2 separate regions of the Homo sapiens genome follow, and region 2 is linked to region 1. The links are contacts of gene promoters, found by promoter capture Hi-C in human tissues and cell types (Jung and others, 2019). All regions are on one chromosome and are shown on one strand. Each heading gives the region's core, a stretch centred on a gene start or on the middle of the fragment in contact. The rest is flanking DNA. Distances are from core to core; before and after follow the strand shown.

Region 1 (6,630 bases), core at 1,008-3,507:
AAGACTTGTACAGTGGATCACTAGGAGAGAAAACTGAAGGGAGCAGTGTGTTGAGTGAAGGCCTTGAATGGCAAAGAGTTTGGTTTTTATGTCTAAGGGATAGAGGTATGAAGCATAGAGGTTTAAAGCATACTCTGTTCTTGGTGTGAAAGACAACCTCAAATAATGGAAGATGTCTATTACTATGTTTTTTTCTGGTGGCCTCTTGACACACAAATATTCTTTAAGAATATTTATTTTCTGGCCGGGTGTGGTGGCTCACGCCTGTAATCCCAGCACTTTAGGAGGTCAAGGGTAGGGGGGTGGATCACTTGAGGTCAGGAGTTCGAGACCAGCTTGGCCAACATGGTGAAACCCCATCTCTACTAAAAATACAAAAATGACCCCATCTCTACTAAAAATACAATTAGCCAGGTGTGGCGGTGGGCACCTGTAATCCCAGCTACTTGGGAGGCTGAGGCAGGAGGATCACTTGAAGCCGGGAGGCGGAGATTGCAGTGAGCCAAGACTGTGCCACTGCACTCCAGCCTGGGCAACAAGAGCGAAACTTCGTCTCAGAAACAAACAAACAAACAAACAAACAAAAATATGTATATTTTCTGAATTGAAAATATCTCACTTTTTTTTTTTTTTTTTTTTTTTTTTTTTTTAAGATGCAGTCTTGCTCTATCATGCAGGCTAGGGGGCAGTGGCGTGATATCAGCTCACTGCAAGCTTAGCCTCCCAGGTTCAAGCAATTCTCATTCCTCAGCCTCCTGAGTAGCTGGGATTACAGGTGTGTGCCATCACGCCCAGCTAATTTTTGTATTTTTAGTAGAGACAGGGTTTCATCATATTGCCCAGGCTGGTCTCGAATTCCTGATCTCAGGTGATCCTCCCGCTTTGGCCTCCCAAAGTGCTGGGATTACAGTCGTGAGCCACCGTGCCCAGCCAGATCTCACTCTTTTGAAAGGTTTCAGTACACATGCAATTGATTTCTTCTGTCAGCTAAGATTAAAACTAGCAAAGATACATCACAGAAAAATAATATACGTATATATACACCCACCCACCACATAACTACTCAGTGAGGCCACATATGTTTAAAATGTTTTATTGAGCATTGGCATTTATCATTAATGAGCTGAATTTAACTGCTAAGGAACTGTGAAAGATAAGTCTGTCTACCTGAGTGTGAGCCAGAACATACTACTGAAGCTACTCTCTATAGTTATAAAAAATTAAGGTCAGAAGTGGCCAATTTGGCTTCTTTTTCAAAGATATCTCAGTTTTGGCTAACTGTTAACCCCAGGACTCTCTTTAGAGCATCTTTCATGTCTTTGTTTCGAAGACTATAGATAAGGGGATTTAAGAATGGAGTCATTGCTGTGTATACCAGAGTGATGATCTTCTGCATTCCTGCTGGGTTCCCTGATGTTGGGCTCACATACATCACCATAAGGGTTCCATAGAATAGAGACACCACCATTAGGTGGGACCCACATGTGGAGAAAGCTTTAGTTCGACCAGCACCAGAGGGAATACAAAGCACAGCTCTGATGACCAGAGTGTAAGATCCCAAGATGGAGAGGAAGGGCCCAAAGATAATCATCGAGTTGAAGGTGTAACAGATAAGCTCAGTGGAAGGAGCAGAGATGCAGGCCAGTGCAAACAATGGGCCTGGGTCACACACCAAGTGGTCAATGATGTTGGGCCCACAGAAGGGAAGTTGGGAGATAAGAACAATAGGGACTGGATAGCAGAGAAATCCGCCTACCCAGCATACACAGACCAGAATTATACAGAACTTCCCAGTCATGATGGAGGGGTAGTGTAATGGACGACAGATGGCCAGGTACCGATCATAAGCCATAACTGATAAAAAGAAACACTCTGTTGTACCCAGTGAAAAAAAGAAATAGAATTGCAGGAAGCAACCAGAGAAGGAGATGGTTTTAATCTCAGAGAGGATATTGACTAGCATGTTTGGGACAGTGGAGGAAATGTACCAGATCTCTAGAAAGGCAAAGTTTCCCAGAAGGATGTACATGGGTGTGTGGAGCCGCCTGTCCAATTTCACTGCACAGACAATAGCTCCATTCCCTAGCAGTGTCAGGAGATAGAGAACCAGGATGAATGAGAAGAAGCAGCTCTGCATCTCCCTTTGACCATGGAAACCCAGGAGGACAAACTCAGTCACAAAATGCATTGTTCTGTTCTGGGGTCCCAAAGCTGTTAGAAAAACAGAAGTAACCAAAGAATGAATAATAAAGAACATTTGGAGATTTTGCTAACTCATGCTGGATGATGTACTAAGTATTTTTACATACATTATCTCATTTGGTCTTCCTAATGACTCTTTGAGCTGCGAGGAGGTATTCTTTACCCTTCTCTTTCACAGACAGGGTAATTGAAGTTCAAAGAGATTAGAAGGGTTCACTTAAACATATGTACAAAGCCAGTAACGCCCAGATACACTGGCCTATTTGGAGATTGGTTTGGAACAAATCATGTTTCACTTCAAATTTTCTATAACCCTGAGTCTCAGTAATGTTTCATCTTTAATGGTAAAATCACTGCCCCTTAGATACTCTACATATAAATATAAACTTTGGATATATTCTTTTACTTTAAAGCAAAATTGAGTATAAATCTGAAGCAAGAATAGTTGCTATATTAAAATTGCCTTCTTAGAGCCTCATATGTAGAAGTCCAATAAAAAGCAGATAGGAATTAAACTTTGGGGAGTCTTCAGCTCCCTTCCTTTTGCTACTCTCAGGGAGGTGCTGCAGAACCCTTAGGAATCTGTAAAATGGTCTGAAAGCTACAAATCTAGTTCCCCCCAGATCACATTCTCCCTGGTGGCATCTGGATTTGCTGAATAATCCAGCCCCTTTTTCTCGTGAGGAGCTCTAGTTCTCTCAAAGCCCTTCTTTATGGTGAGCAAACTTTGTATCCTTTATTACTTTTACCCATTGATCTTGGTACTCCCCAAGTCAGCAGGTAAACTTTGACTTTGTTGAAACTACACAAAATAAGTCTAATTCCTCTCCCATGATGGTGGTAGTGAGGTCTTAAATAACTGAAGGCAGCTGTTATGTCCCTTACCTATGACTTCTTTGGCAGGCCACCATTTTCCCTGCTTGTCAGCCTCCTTCTCCAACAAATTGTACTATTCTACATCATGACTTAGCTCTTGAGGGAGCTTGCTGTTGGGTAAATCAATTTCTCTAGTAATAAAGCCATGTGCCTTTATTTTTGCTAGAAATTAAGTCCTAAACTTTATAATTTGTCCCTTCATTATCTTGCTTTTCCATAAATTAAATAATGAATAAAAGAGTCACCTCAGGATGTGCAGAGAACAGAAAGATCTTTCTGATATTTTCTAAATCAGGAGTTGAGACAAGATAAATAACTTAGATATTTTGCTAACAATTTTCTAGAAACTATTGGTCCAGCAGGCTTATTTCTGTGTCCTCAAATATCCTTGTTAAAGTTCAGAATATTTGGCTGGGTAAGCCACTATCAATATTTTAAATTTAGCAATATAATGACTTTAAAATTAGGATAATTTATTGTATTATTAGCGTCACTGTTAAGATACTCACAAAATTCCATCTTTACATCATTTATATGATCCACAGAGAGCGAGAGGCCTGCCTTTCAGTACTTGATCAAACCTGGAGCAAACCCAAAAGCATAAATGTTTTATTGCCGAGGTAACTTTGGATATTCATGTTAACAATATTTTAAGAATAATACAACAATTTCTCTAATAAACATGATTTTTAGGAAAATGTAAATTTTGTCCAAGCAGTTCAGTTTAATGAATAATAATTATCATGATCACATGCATCAGAATTTTTAGGACAGTTGTAATTACTCTCAAATATACTCTCCATAACTGCTTGTATTTCCCACACTACATGCTATGTCATTCTTGGAAAATATAATTACTGGGCTTGCAATTTAAAAAAACGGTTGGCAGTTAGAATGGCGATCATTAAAAAGTCAGGAAACAACAGGTGCTGGAGAGGATGTGGAGAAATAGGAACACTTTTACACTGTTGGTGGGACTGTAAACTAGTTCAACCCTTGTGGAAGTCAGTGTGGCGATTCCTCAGGGATCTAGAACTAGAAATACCATTTGACCCAGCCATCCCATTACTGGGTATATACCCAAAGGACTATAAATCATGCTGCTATAAAGACACATGCACATGTATGTTTATTGCGGCACTATTCACAGTAGCAAAGACTTGGAACCAACCCAAATGTCCAACAATGATAGACTGGATTAAGAAAATGTGGCACATATACACCATGGAGTACTATGCAGCCATAAAAAATGATGAGTTCATGTCCTTTGTAGGGACATGGATGTAGCTGGAAACCATCATTCTCAGCAAACTACGGCAAGGAAAAAAACCAAACACTGCATGTTCTCACTCATAGGTGGGAATTGAACAATGAGAACACATGGACACAGGAAGGGGAACATCACACACCAGGACCTGTCGTGGGGTGGGGGGAGGGGGGAGGGATAGCATTAGGAGATATACCTAATGTTAAATGATGAGTTAATGGGAGCAGCACACCAACATGGCACATGTATACATATGTAACAAACCTGCATGTTGTGCACATGTACCCTAAAACTTAAAAGTATAAAAAAAAAGTTTCTAAAACAAAAGAAATAAAAAATAAAAAAAGGTTGGATGTTAAATTTAAATCGTAGCATTTCATGTATTTATTTGTTTATTCAAGAATTTAATTTAACACATGTTTATTCACCATTTATTATATTGCTAGCAGTGTGTTGAGTTCTGGGGTTATAATGGTGAATATACAAAATAAAATTCCTCCCCTTTTGGAACTCAGGTTTTATAAAAACTATCAAGATTACAACCTATATCTGCACAGTCATGTGCATAGGCTGGGGGTTCCTTGAGCTGTGTATTTTTGCAGCACGTCCAACTGCATGCTGTGGGTCTGAAAAAAGATATTTACTCCAGTTAGAAATAACTTGAATAAATCTTTGTAGTACAGGGGACATGATAACAAATTTTGCTTGGCATAAATTAGATAATTAGATATTTTGGGCTTTTCAAGGCAGTAGGTAGAGAATGAGACATGAATTAATTTATCCTACTCACAGGCCAGGAAATTTTTGGTACTGAGAAAAGAAATATAATTCCAACTGATGATAATTGATCTGGAACCGGACCTCATAATTGACTCCTTCCTGCTTATTATTATTAATTATTTTTGAGACAGAGTCTTGCTATGTGGTCCAGGCTGGAGTGCAGTGGCGTGATCTCCCTGCACTGTGTGATCACTGTAACCTCCGCCTCCTGGGTTCAAGGGATTCTCATGCCTCAGCCTCCTGAGTAGCTGGCATTACAGGCTTGGGCTACCACACCCGGCTAATTTTTTTTTTTTTGGAGACAGAGTCTCACTGTATCCCCCAGGCTGGAGTGCAGTGGCATGATCTCAGCTCACTGCAACCTCTGCCTCCTGGGTTCAAGCAATTCTCATGCCTCAGCCTCCCAAGTAGCTGGGATTACAGGCGCCTGCCACCACGCCCAGCTAATTTTTGTATTTTTAGTAGAGACGGGGTTTTGCCATGTTGGTGAGGCTGGTCTTGAACTCCTGACCTCATGTGATCCACCTGCTTTGGCCTTCCAAAGTGCTGAGATTTCAGGTGTGAGCCACTGTGCCCAGTCCCCACCTGCTCATTATTTGACTTCGTAATGTTCAAGACCTTGATGACATTATTTCAAACACAGTGAAATTTTAATTATCTATGGAATATAGGGTCAGAGAAAGATGGATAACTAAACTTCACAGATAATTAAAAAAACCTCACTGCATTCATTTCTATTGCCTCCATCACCAAAGTACATTTACTAGGAACTCAAATAGTAAGTTTAAATTCACCTCTTTTGTCTTTCTATTCACTTCAAGTGAGAGTACAAATGGGCAATTGGAGAGAAGAGGAGGAACAAAGCGCTTGGGCAACACATTCTATGTGAACCGACAAGGGAGCTACATCCTCCTCCAGCCCCATCCGCTTGCTGGGAATTTAAGACACTTGCCCACGGAAGAGCACTTTTAGAATTATAAGTGCTGGGGCTCTTCTCTTAAGTATTTATGTTTTAAAAATTACTCTGTAGGTGAATCCAAAGGAAAGGAGAGTCTGCTGTTCTACTTCTTTCACAAGAGGTTTTCACTTGCCATTTGTCACTTGCCAACAACTCTGAAAAAAATAACAGCTTGCTTTAATTGTTCCAGCTGAAGAAGAGTCTGTCAATAAAAACTTCAGTGACTAATTTACAAACAAGGAGGTAAAAGACTCGGTACATTCTAACTGAAGGGAATTTAATGGTCCCCCCAAATAAGCAAGAACTTTGAACATTATTTTCCCTAACTGAGTTGTATAGTGGGAACTCTGAGATACCTGAGTGAGCCCTTAATGTGAATATATCACCCGGGCATTCTTTAGGAGTATGCTGGGAGAAGAGAAGTGAGGGGCCAATGTTCGTGCAAAGAACTAAGGAACAAAGAATTCACAGATTTGCAGAAGAACCACGTATTCTTAGCATCTGGCAGCACTGAATGCACAGGAACGGTGGTGTACCGCTGCAGGCA
Region 2 (6,352 bases), core at 1,731-4,230, 89 kb after region 1:
AAGAGAGAGAACAGAGGCAAAAAAGAGAAAAAGCATACACAAAAAAATAGGAGAAAAGATGGATAGAAAGAGAAACAATGCCCACAGAGATGCTTGTACCACAAAGCCGTAAACACAGGTTTAGAAAAAAAAAAAGACAGGATAAGAGAAGGGAATGGATGGAGAGAGAAAGATAGAGTGGTAAAGATATTTCTGAGAATGCAAATTATTTTGTTTTGTTTTTGTTTTTTATTTTTCACTTTAGTTTTGTTTTATGCAATTAAGGGACTTCCCAGGGATGTCACTTCTCAATATTGACAACAATGCTTTAGAATTAGTTAGAAGAAGATATTTTAACTGAGATATTAACTAGTGCAAAATAGACCTTTCCCCTCTGCTGAGAATGCTTTTTCATCTTAGGCAATTTTATACTATTAAAAAGAAAGATGTATGTTTGTGTGAATGTCTGTGTGTTTTAAAAGATGTATCTCAGAGTGGCCTGAACTAGCTTTCTAAACAAGGCATCCAAATGTGGTGAAACTAGCACAAGACTGGAGCTCAAAAGACAAGTTTGCAGTCCTGGTTCCAACCATGATGGTTCTGTTTTTTGAGAAAATGTCAAAAACTTCCTCCGATGTTTTGTCATCTAAAAAACTGAAAATATATTTCCTTACTTTACAAAAGGTTTTAGGTGTTTATCATTTGGAAAACTTATTACATAGGTAAGTGATTAGGCACTGGTTATTATATACAAGGTCCTCGGTCTCAGGGATTTGACATTCCAGTGGAGGGAGCCAGACAAAGAACAACAACAACAACAAAAAAGACAGTAAAATGTGGGAGAATGAAAGAATATAACAGAGGGATGTGTTGGAGGGTGAATGAGGGCGGGGGGTGGTGCTGTTATTTTAGATTGAGTAGTTAGAAAAGTTATCCCTGAGGAGCTGAAAGTTAAGCTGAGGTTTGAATGACTAGGGTAGGGCATTTCAGGCAATGTGAAGAACGAGAATGGAGACTGTGGAAGAGGATTGAGCTGGTACAGTAAGGCACAGAAAGGAGACCATCATGATGAGGAAATGGTGAGCATAAGAAGGAAAAGTATAAGGCAACATTAGAGAGGTAGGCAGATGTTATCCAGCTCATGGCATTTGGAGGTTATTCTCAGTGTGTAATTATAATGTCAACAATTGTAATCTTCAGGTCGTTCTGGCTATTGTGTGGAGAATGGGTTTGAGGGAGGCAAGTATAGGAGCAAGGAGAACAGTTTGAAGATGTTGCAGTACCAAGTACAAAAGATGATGTTGGTAACTTTGCCTGGTGGAGAGTGGGAGGAGGAGACCGTAGTAAGAAGAATTCAGAGAACTTGACATGTATTTTGATGGTGGAGACATTTAGACTTGCTGATAGACACGATGTCTTAAAAACTCCTAAGATTTTAGATGAAATAGCTATGTATGGAAGTGTAATTTATTAACATTATGAAGACCCAAACAAGATAAGGTGGTGATTGGAAAAAAACTATGCTTTTTTAAAGGTACATTTAATTTTCACATAGGAAATATATTTGCATGGTTAAGCATTTTTAAAAAGTAGAAATGAGGCCACTTTTTTTGCACCTACCACAATTAGTTTATTCTCAATTTATTCAAAGAGATTCTTTAGAAAAAAAATACATGCTGAGCTATTCTATTAAAAATATTTGTTTATAATCCTTTAATTTGAGTGGCAGTTTTCTCAGACATAAAGCCACTGAGTTATATTTTCTTGCCTGAAAAATTTGTAGGTTTTGACCCAGTGCCACTTCCATTTTAAAAATGCTAGTTAATTATTTTCTGGAGAAATGTATGAGTGACAGTCCTATGATGTTTTGTCATCTACAAAATTGAAAATGTATTTCCTTACTTTACAAAAAGTTTTGGGTGTTTTTCATTTGGAAAGCTTACTACATAGGTAAGCAATTAGGGACTGATTATTAAAGGTCCTTGGTCTCAGGGATTTGACATGCCAGTGGAGTTGACATTCCAGCAACTAGATTGCTACTCAGTGAGAACCTTATAGGTAATACCTCTCTAAATCCTGGTAATGAAAACCTCTTTCTCTGGGATGGTTTTCATTTTCTTCTTTGTATGTTTCATGTTATTAATTTTAGTAAAATGAGATTTTAGTTTGTACTTTAAGAAATAGTATCACTAGTTTATTTTGAAAAATAAATTGTATCAATGTTTACAAAACCTAATAGCAAACAGTCATATTTTGCTCAGGATAGCAAACAAGGCACAAATAGGTGCCAAATAGATTCCAGTGTTTCAGACAAGTCAGTTCTTGATAGTGTAACATGATGTTTGATTAAAAATTTTATTTTATTTAATGGTAAATTACTGATATTGAACACAGATGGTAATCAGTAATTTAAAAAAAAGTAGAGGAGAAACCCACCCAAATTTAAAATCACATTGATAAAACTTAGAGAATTGGGGGAATCTTTGTTTTACAGGCAGGTTGACTGGCTAATTTGGAGGCAGCAATACAAATTAAAGGACTAGCTATGGGCTGTTCTCTAACATCTATACTTATTTGCATATTCTTGGGATGCAGGGTGGGTTCAACATAGGCAAATCAATAACTGTGATTCACCATATAAACAGAATTAAAAACAAAAATGGTATAATCATCTTAATGACACAGAAAAAGCTTTTGATACAGTTCATCATTGGTTCATGAGAAAAACACTCAAGAAACTAGGCATTTATAGAAGGAACATACCTCAAAATAATAAGATCCATTTATGTCATACCCACTGCCAACATCTTACTGAATGGGAAAAAGCTGGAAGCATTCCCCTTGAGAAATGGAACAAGACAAGGATGTCTATTCTCATCATTCCTATTCAACATAGTGCTGGGAAACTGAGCCAGAGCCATCAGGCAAGAGAAAGAAATAAATTACATCCAAATAAAAAAATAAAATATCAAATTACCTTTGTTTGGTGATTATATAACACTAAACATAGAAAACTCTAACTCCACTAAAAGGCTCCAAGGACTGATAAATGATAAATATACCAGAATCAGCAGCATTTCTATACAGCACTAACATTCAGGTTGAGAGACAAATCAAGAATGCAATCTCATTTACAATAGCTCTGCACACACACACACACACACACACACACACACACACACACAACCCAACAACATGTAAAAGCATATCTAACCAAGGAGGTGAAATATCCCTACAAGGAACTACAAAACACTATTGAAAGAAATCATAGCCTACAGAAACAACTGGGAAAACATTCCATGCTCATTGTTTGGAAGAATCAATATTGTTAAAATGGTCATACTGCTCAAAGTAATGTACAGATTCAATGCTGTTACTATCAAATTACCAATGCCATTCTACACAAAATTAGAAAAAAATCCTAAAATTGATATGGAACAAAAAAGATCCTGAATAGCTAAAGCAATTCTAAGCAAAAAGAACAAAGCTGGAGGCATCACATTACCTGACTACTATACTACAAGGCTAAAGTAGCCAAAAGGCATGATACTATGCAAAAACAGACACATAGACCAATGAAATAGGATAGAGAACTCAGAAGTAAAGCCTCACACATACAACCATCTGATTTTTGACAAAGTTGACAAAAGCAAGCAGTGGGAAGAGGACTCCCTATTCAACAAACAGTACTGAGATAACTGGCTAGCCATCTGCAGAAGACTGAAACTGGACCCCTTCTGTATTAGTCTGTTCTCACTCTACTAATAAAGACATACCTGAAGCTGGGTAATTTATGAATAAAAGAGGTTTAATTGACTCAGTTCCACATGGCTTGCGAGGCTTCACAATCATGGCAGAAGGCAAAAGAGGAGCAAAGTCATGTCTTACATGGCAGCAGGCAAGAGAGTGTATACAAGAGAACTCTCCTTTATAAAACCATCAGATCTCATGAGATTTATTCACTATCATGAGAAAAGCATGGGAAAGACCGACCCCCAAGATTCAATTATCTTCCACCAGTCCCTCCTCTAACACATGGGAATGATGGGAGCTACAATTTATTTATTTATGTATTTATGTATTTATTTATTTATTATGGGCCGGGCACGGTGCCTCATGTTTGTAATCCCAGCACTTTGGGAGGCTGAGCTGGGTGGATGTCTTGAGCCCAGGAGTTTGAGTCTAGCCTGGGCAACATGGTTAAACCTCATATCTACTAAAAATACAAAAAGTTAACCAGGCACCGTGGTGCAGCTACTTTGTAGGCTGAGGTAGGAGGATCACCTGAGCCTGGGAAGTCAGGCCAGGCTCCCAGGCCTGGCCCATAAAAAAGCTTTCTATAGGTTTTTTTTTAAAATTTATTATACTTTAAGTTCTGGGATACATGTGCAGAATGTGCAGGTTTGTTACACAGGTATACAAGTGCCACGGTGGTTTGCTGCACTCATCAACCCATCATCTATGTTTTAAGCCCTGCATGAATTAGGCATTTGTCCTAATGCTCTCTCTCCCCTTCCCTGCCAACCCCCAACAGGCCCCAGTGTGTGATGTTCCCCTCCCTGTGTCCATGTATTCTCATTGTTCAACTCCCACTTATGAGTGAGAATATACAGTGTTTGGTTTTCTGTTCTTGTGTTAGTTTGCTGAGAATGATGGTTTCCAGCTTCATCCATGTCCCTGCAAAGGACATGAACTCATTCTTTTTATGGCTGCATGGTATTCCATGGTGTATATGTGCCACATTTTCTTTCAGTCTATCATTGATGGGCATTTGGGTTGGTTCCAAGTCTTTGTTACTGTAAATAGTGCTGCAGTAAACATACATGGACATGTGTCTTTATAGTAGAATGATTTGTAATCCTTTGGGTATATACCCAGTAATGGGATTGCTGGGTCAAATAGTATTTCTGGTTCTAGATCCCTGAGGAATCATCACACTGTCTTCCACAATGGTTGAACTAATTTACACTCCCACCAACAGCGTAAAAGCGTTCCTATTTCTGATTGGAGCTACAACGTAAGATGAGTTTTGGGTGGAGACACAGTCAAACCGCATCACCTTCCTTTCAGTATATACAAAAATTAACTCAAGATAAAGGAAAAACTTACATGTAAGGCCTAAAACTATTACAATCCTAGAAGGAAACCTATTAAATATTATTCTGGACATTGATCTTAGGAAAAATTTATGATGACATCCACAACGCAATTGCAATAAGAATAAAAACTGGCAAGTGAGACCCAATTAAACTAAAGAGCTTCTACAGCAGAAGAAAATATCAAGAACAAATAACTTACAGAATGGAAGAAAATATTCACAAGCTATGCATTTGACAAAGGTATAATATCCAGAATCTATAAGAAACTTAACGTAACAAGCAAAAACCAAACAACCTCATTAAAAAAGTGGGCAAAGGATATGAACAGATACTTCTCAAAAGAAGACATACATGCAGCCAACAAACATATGAAAATGTACTCAACATCACTAATCATCAGAGAAATGCAAATCAAAACCCCAATGAAATACCATCTCACACCACCAAAATGGCTATTATTAAAAGTTCAGAAAACAACAGATATTGATGAGACTACAGAAAAAAGAGAACACTTATACACTATTGAAGGGAATGCAAATTAGTTCAGCTCCTTTGGAAAGCACTTTGGAGATTTCTCAAAGAACTCCCCATTCAACCCAGCAATCCCATTATTGGTTATATACCTGAAGGAAAATAGATTACTATACCAAAAAGACACATGCATTCATATGTTCATCACTGCACTGTTGACAATAGCAAAGACATGGAATCAACAAAATGCCCATCAACAATGGACTGGACAAAGAAAATGTCATACATATACACCATGGAATACTATCCAGCTATAAAAGGAATGAAACGGTGCCCTTTACAGAAACATGGATGCAGCTGGTGGTCATTATCCTAAAGGAAATTAATGCAGGAACAGAAAACCAAATATCATGTGTTCTCACTTACAATTGGGAGCTAAACATTGGGTGCGCATGGATATAAAGATGGGAACAAAGGATGCTGGGAATTAATAGAGTTGGGACAGTGGGAAAGGGTTGAGAGTTGATAAACTATTAAATGACAAAACCACAATTACTTTTGCACCATCCTAATACCTATTGGGTACTATGTTCACTACATGAGTACCGGGATCAGTCATACCCCTAATCTCAGTATCACACAATATATCCATGTAATAACACTGCACATATACCCTCTGAACCTATAACAAAAAATGAAGAAAGAAAAACAGCTATGTCTACTATTATTCCACACTGGACCATGAGGGGCAAACTTAGTTCTCCATGAATAGTTAGAATATCTTCAGACAAATAGAACCTCTG

The links. The method cuts DNA at HindIII sites, captures the fragments that hold promoters and counts their contacts. A contact is called where the count stands out against the background at its distance.
Region 2: a contact is called between a fragment that was not itself captured here and the fragment with the promoter of OR11H6 in region 1, in 4 of the 25 tissues and cell types used here (lymphoblastoid cells, mesendoderm cells, spleen and 1 more).

Annotation. Positions count from the first base shown.
Region 1 is chr14:20,219,337-20,225,966 of GRCh38, reverse strand. It overlaps OR11H6 (olfactory receptor family 11 subfamily H member 6), which reads right to left and starts at 2,257. Exons shown (of 1, transcript NM_001004480.1): 1 at 1,265-2,257. The coding sequence starts at 2,257. The coding sequence ends at 1,265. RefSeq lists a silencer at 5,153-5,331. The HindIII fragment of the contact is 13,960 bases long and covers 1,105-6,630 here.
Region 2 is chr14:20,131,534-20,137,885 of GRCh38, reverse strand. No RefSeq gene overlaps it. Among named protein-coding and RNA genes, the nearest start is that of OR4N5, 4.1 kb to the left of the region's middle. The HindIII fragment of the contact is 5,982 bases long and covers 1-5,971 here.